2 separate regions of the Homo sapiens genome follow, and region 2 is linked to region 1. Evidence: promoter capture Hi-C in 16 types of primary human blood cells and fetal thymus (Javierre and others, 2016). All regions are on one chromosome and are shown on one strand. The core of a region is centred on a gene start or on the middle of the fragment in contact, and the rest is flanking DNA. Distances in the headings are between cores, read along the strand shown.

What was found. The method cuts DNA at HindIII sites, captures the fragments that hold promoters and counts their contacts. A CHiCAGO score of 5 or more calls a contact.
Region 2: a fragment that was not itself captured here is called in contact with the fragment with the promoter of DOCK1-AS1 in region 1 in 1 of 17 cell types (endothelial precursors); the score reaches 5.1 in endothelial precursors.

Annotation. Positions count from the first base shown.
Region 1 is chr10:127,024,654-127,027,762 of GRCh38, reverse strand. DOCK1-AS1 (DOCK1 antisense RNA 1) reads left to right here and starts at 1,270. Exons shown (of 5, transcript NR_188215.1): 1 at 1,270-1,491. It overlaps DOCK1 (dedicator of cytokinesis 1), which reads right to left. Exons shown (of 52, transcript NM_001290223.2): 15 at 2,980-3,078; 16 at 1,339-1,411. The HindIII fragment of the contact is 2,518 bases long and covers 1-2,400 here.
Region 2 is chr10:126,908,478-126,911,789 of GRCh38, reverse strand. The region is part of intron 1 of DOCK1 (dedicator of cytokinesis 1); the gene reads right to left. LOC124900289 (a long non-coding RNA gene) reads right to left here. Exons shown (of 2, transcript XR_007062336.1): 1 at 1-3,312. Among named protein-coding and RNA genes, the nearest start is that of DOCK1, 4.7 kb to the right of the region's middle. RefSeq lists enhancers at 1-400, 401-901. The HindIII fragment of the contact is 1,345 bases long and covers 954-2,298 here.

The sequences.
Region 1 (3,109 bases), core at 21-2,520:
CCAGGCCCCAGAAATAGTCAGGTGAATGAACACATTATTCCAGCAGCAGCAACTACAATGGAGCCCCTATCCATACCAGGCAGCGTGCCAGAAGGTGGCCAGCCTCCACCTTGCCTGACCTTCAAGAATACCCTAGGAGGAAGGTTTAATGTTTTTTTTGTTTTGCTTTTTGTTTTTGAGACAGGGTCTCACTCTGTTCCCCAGGCTGAAGTGCAGTGGTGCAATCACAGCTCACTGCAACCTCTGCCTCCCGGGTTCAAGCAATCCTCCTGCCTCAGCCTCCTGAGCAGCTGAGACTACAGGTATACCATCACACCAGGATAACTGTTTTAGTAAAGATCGGGTCTCACTGTGTTGCCCAAGCTGGTCTCAAACTCCGGGGCTCAAGCAATCTTCCACCTTGGCTTCCCAAAGTTCTGGGATTACAGGTGTGAGCCACGGCACCAGCCAGAAAGGTATTCTTATCCTCAAATGAAGATACAGAAGAGGCTCATGCTTAAGCTCCATCCAGAGCACACAGAACCTGAAACTGCCCACTGCACGGTGTGACCCCCACGGGGTCATCAGTGACAAAGGGCGGTCTGCCCTCCACACCACTCTTTTCCTTTAACTGCCTGCGGCACACAAGCCTGTAGCCAACTCTCTTTGTCATTTATTGTCCCAAATATGAATATGTCTCAGTTCCCAATGCCAAAGAGACACACACCCTGAAAGACGGGAATCATGTTTTCCTTCTGTGATATCTTACTGTCTAGCACAGGGCTACAGCTTTAGTTGACAATTAATTTAACAAAATGTGATGGAACAAATTTCAGTCATCAATAATAAATTCTTTTTGAAGGAGAGTGATTCAAATAGCAGTTCTTTCCTCCTAAAGTCTTGGCACCATGGTCAGTATTCACAAAAATGTCTATGAGAAAAGCCATCCCTGAGCTCCAGACAGCAAGGGCCACCAAGGAAGACAAAAAGGGTTCAAGATTTCCAATTCTAAGACAGGCACCTTAAGAGCCCATGTTTGAGAGGTATTTGTTACAGCTCAGTAACTTTTCTGATGGATGGCATGGATGGATGGCAAGTCAACACGGAAGACTGGAAAGCAAAAGAAAGAAGGGGACCAGCAACACTGGGTAGGAGGAACTGGAGAAGGAAATTAAGATCTCCTCCTGAGATCTGCTCAAGGAAAAGAGAGAAGAATGTTTCCAAGGAATAGGTTCCGGTGGGAAATGAGCCTTATTGTGTTATGATAGCGAGTTCCAGAACAACTGAGAGTGGCCTCTCGCGCTTTCCCCCAGTTCTCCCTTAAAAATACTTGGGGGAAGAAAGTGCTTGACTACTCACAGTCCTGTGATGACCTGTGGCGGAAGGTAAACCGAAGGTGACTGCGGTTAACGTCCTCGATGGGAATGGCCACCTTCAAGAATTGAAAAAGAAGTTTAAGCACTGTTATCAATATCATCCAGCGTAACAGCTTTATTCAACTGGAGCTATCAGGTACAACTGTAAACATTTCTAACTGCAGTGGTGAAAATACTGTACACCTAGTCCCCTATATGATTTTTCCAAAGACAAAATGCCTCTGCAAAATTTTGTATCATATTGTAACAGCTGCCAAGCCAACTGACTCCGTGACACAGCTGAATTTTTTTTTCTGAATGCTCTGACCATTACTGTTAAGATTCTTTTTTCTTTCTTTTTTTTTTTTTGATACAGAGTTTCGCTCTTGTTGCCCAGGCTAGAGTGGTGCAATGGCTCGATCTTGGCTCACCACAACCTCCGCCTCCTGCGTTCAAGCGATTCTCCTGCCTCAGCCTCTCGAGTAGCTGGGATTACAGGCATGCGCCACCACACCCAGCTAATTTTGTGTATTTAGTAGAGAAGGTTTTTCCATGTTAGGCTGGCCTCAAACTCCTGACCTCAGATGATCTGCCCACCTCAGCCTCCCAAAGTGCTGGGATTACAAGTGTGAGCCACCACATCCGGCCAAGATTCTACTTTTAAACGTTGCTGTTTTTGGGCCGGGCATGGTGGCTCATGCCTGTAATCCCAGCAGTCTGGGAGGCCGAGGAGGGTGGATCACTTGAGGTCAGGAGTTCGAGACCAGCCTGGCCAACATGATAAAACCCCAACTCTACTAAAAATACCAAAAACATTAGCCAGGCATCATGGTACATGCCTGTAATCCCAGCTACTCAGGAAGCTGAGGCAAGAGAATCGCTTGAACCCAGGAAGTGGAGGTTGCAGTGAGCCGAGATTGCACCACTGCACTCCAGTCTGGGTGACAGAATGAGACTCCGTCTCAAAAAAAGAAAAGTTGCCGTTTTTCTTCTTAGCCCCAACCTGGAAGGGTCTATATTCCTTCCACAGCTGTGGTGACCTGCCCACAGCTGCGCCAAAAAAGCTTTCCTGTTGTCACATTACACTCAAAGAAAAAAGACCTAATACATGCTGCCTCTAAGCAAAAATTGTCCCTAATTCTCACATCAAACATCTGTATTCCAGAGCCAACCCCTGGCCTGGTTTTCAAATATTCAAGCTCTTGGCGGTGAGACGGTGTTTACTCCATCGTGGAGATGTGAGCACGCTGCATTATGAAAAGGCACCATATCAGAGCTACAGAACAGGATCCCACTCCCCAGCAATGACCTCCACAGGCTGGCAGCTCGGTTTTTTTGTTTGGTGTAAAGACAGCATGCCACACATAAAACAGTACTGGGAAGAGAAAGACAATAGCTATCTTAAAAAGACTCTGTCATTTGTCTCCATGAACGTCCTATTTTTACGTCCAAAAGGAGATGAGAGTAAATGTATTCTAAGAAACACCAGTGTGGTTCCTTAGCAACCTTGAATGACTTTGTTGGGAGACACTCTGCCTGCCTGGAGCAGCTCCCGGGCTGAGGAGGATGTTAGGATGTTTCCTTGGGTTACAAATGAGCATTTCATAATCAGCGCCATGTGATAAAATGACCATGTAAATAATACCTTAACAGTCTCAAACCAGCGTGGCTGCTTTACTTGGTAGTAAATCACAGATTTGTACTCTGAAATCGCTTCATCACCAGCACCCGGGAAAATCACATGCTTTAAAAGAAGACATAAAGAGCTCACGTAA
Region 2 (3,312 bases), core at 377-2,876, 120 kb after region 1:
CTTAAGATACATTAATTAGTTCCTGTCAACTCCCATCAGCCCAACCTCAGTGAAGCAAAGCCCACAGTACCATCCAGAACATCGCTGCTTAAAAACGCAGAAACCAGGCTGGAAGAGGTTCAAACACTCACCCTGGGTCATATGCATGAACAGTGGCCTTGTCAGGGCTAAAACTCAAACTCTGACCCCTCCTCGGGCGCCTCCTCATTTCCTCCCTGAAGGCCTTCCGGATGCACTGAAGGGTTTGAAAAGTGAACATCTTGACAACCGCATCTTGACAAGCGACCACCTGGTGTTAACCGTGGTCTCCACACTGGTGCATGTGCCCGGTCAGCCTTCCACTCCATGATGTCTCTTCAAACTGGATCAAAGTCCTTCCCTGAATACACTGGACAATTTCACAGCTCAGTGGACCCGCTCATACAGCGCTCCCACCAGCACCCCCTGGGTGGGCTGCCTTCTCCTGTACCGCAGCAGCACAGGGAGCTGCACGCTGGCTCCCAAATGAAACCAAGGCAAATGCAAACTCCAACCACAATGACAGACAACTACACACCTACACAAGCAATAAGGACGGTGACAAATGATGGCAAGGATTCCGAGAAATCTACAATCACATATACACTGCTGGTGAGAATGTGAACTGGCACAGTTACTCCAGGAAAGTTTGGCAGTTTCTTAAAAAGCTAAACATCCAACTACCAGACGACTCAGCCTCTGCACTCCTGGGCATTTATCCCAGAAAATGAAGACTTAGGTTCACACTAAAACCTGTATGTGCTTGTTGACAGCAGCTGTATTTGTCACAGCCAAACTCAGATGTCCTTCGACAGGTGAACAGTTAATCTGGGGCATATCCAGACCATGAAATGATACTCAGCAAAGAAAAGAAGCAACACCCGGATGAATATCCAGAGAGAGATACTGAGTGAAAAAAGCCAATCCCGAAAGCTTACCTCCTATGCAATTTCACTAACGGAACACTCTTTAAAGGACAATATTATAAAAACACAGAACAGGCAAAGGGTGGCCAGGATTTGAGGGGAGAAAGGCGTGGAGGGAGGTAGGCGTGGTGCTTGTGGTGCTGGAAATGTTCTGTACCTTGACTATCGATGTCAATATCCCAGTCGTGATGCTGTACTACAGCTTTACAAGACGTAACCTTAGGTGAAACTAGTAATGGCTACTCATGATCTCCCTGAATTATATTTTACACCCGCATTTGGCTATAATTATCTGAAAATACAAAGTTTAATGCAATCATCTGAAAATACAAAGTACAGAGAGGAAGAAAAGAAAGAAGGGAAAAGGGAGGGAGGGAAGGAGGGTGGGAACAGCGTACAAGTGTGCGCTTGCTACAGCGATGGCCCTGGGGCGTCAGCGCCACACCCAGCAAAGGACACCACGTGGCCTATTTCTTCCTCCCCATTTCACTACCTGCATCCACAGAGGTGATAAAGAGACAGAACTATTGACACACACTAAGACAATCCTGATCAGATGTCTGGTATCCTAGGCAAACAATGGCATAGAAATAAATTTAAATTTCTTATGTTTCCAAAGTAAAATCAGGTTTGTAGAAATATAATATGCCCTGATTTGGTTTTGCTGCAATTCCAGTGAATGAAAATGCCTGCATTTCTATTTACTTATGATCAAATCTAATTTTTCTTCCCCAAAGTAGCAGCTTGCTTGCTACTCTAGATAACAAAAGAGATCTCTCATCAACTCCCACGCTCCCAAATTTATTTGGATATCACACTATTCCTAGCAATTATCATTGCTTAGAGCTAATGTGAAGGCACGCAAGTCAGGCTCCTCACACTGAGCAAATGTGACTTCTACCCCAATTAGGAAGCAAAACACACTATCAAGAAACCAACTTTTGAAGAAAGGCATTTTTCCAGCAACCCGTTAACCGCACACAGAAGTCACTTGTCACTATGTTTCTAAACTTTATGCTTTATTAAATAAAAAGTTAACAAAAGCAACGCTTCGTTGAGTACTTGGCATATCTTAAACGCAGGGCTAAATTCTCTGCCAACATCATCTCAGCGAGTCCTCACGACTCGGCAGCAAGCAGGCTTGGTTCCACTTCACAGATGAGAAAACCAAGGCTAAGAAAGTATGAGTAATTTGCTCAAGGGTCCCATTATGAGTAAGAGCAGTGCCAATGCCCCATCCCATTTGAGAGCTGCACTTGGAAGTGGCCAAAGTGAAGAGCACACTTGGGTTCACTACCTTCAATGAACTTAGTAACAGATCTCAAGGGTGCAAGAGAGCCTCACCCTGCAAGCTTCTCTCCCATCATCTGTATTAGTTTTCCACTGCTGCCGTAACAAATTCCCACAACCCAGCCAGCTTAAAACCACACAAATGTATTATCTCAGTTCCACAGGCCACACGCCCAGCAGCTCAGGGTCTCAAAATCAAGGTGTTGGCTGGCTGGGCTCTTAGCAGGAGGCCCTGGGGAGGAAATCTGTTTCCAAGCTCATTCAGGGTGTTGGCAGGATCCAATTCTTTGTAACTGCCGATCATTAGCTAGGGGCCTCCCGTAGCTCCCTGAGGCCTCTCTCTGGTCCTTGCAAGTGAGCCCCTACATCTCAGGGCCAGCAACTGTGCTTCCAAACATAGGATCTTCTGACTGCCTGTTTCACAACTTTGACAGCCAAAGTTCTCTGTGCCCACGTGGATGGTCCTGAATAATCTCCCATCTACGAATTCCAAGTAACCTGAATCACATCTGCCAAGTCCCTTTTGCCATGTAACATATTGAATTCACAGAGTCTGGGGATTAGGGCGTGGACCTTTTTGGGGACCATTATTCTGCCTTCAACACCATTGTTGAGATGTGAGTGAGTGAGCACATGGTCCTCACGTGTGATTCTAGAACATACTGCATCTTTTCACCTAATCTTAGGAACAGGATCCATGGCAACATAATTTTATTGACGTCGGGACATAAAACTGCCTACTGGGCTGTGAGAGAAAAGATCATCTGGCCAGTGTGACAGCTGAGTCAAGGTTTATGCCTGTTAATATGCCAGGCCCGTAAACATGACCCACCAACTCAAAACCAAGGGGGAAACGCGGGCTGGTAAATTTCACAGGCAGCCCCCAGTGGAATGAATTGGGAGGAACCAGCATTTCCTGCCTTTGCAGAAGGAACCCCAGATCAGCTGTTTACTCCTTTCCCAATTTTACAAAATAAATATACAACTGAAGTATCTCATTTACAAACAATGCTTCTAACAGATTCCAAGTACTTGCAAACAATAAGCTGTGATTCATGTTTCCAAATGAGATGGAGTT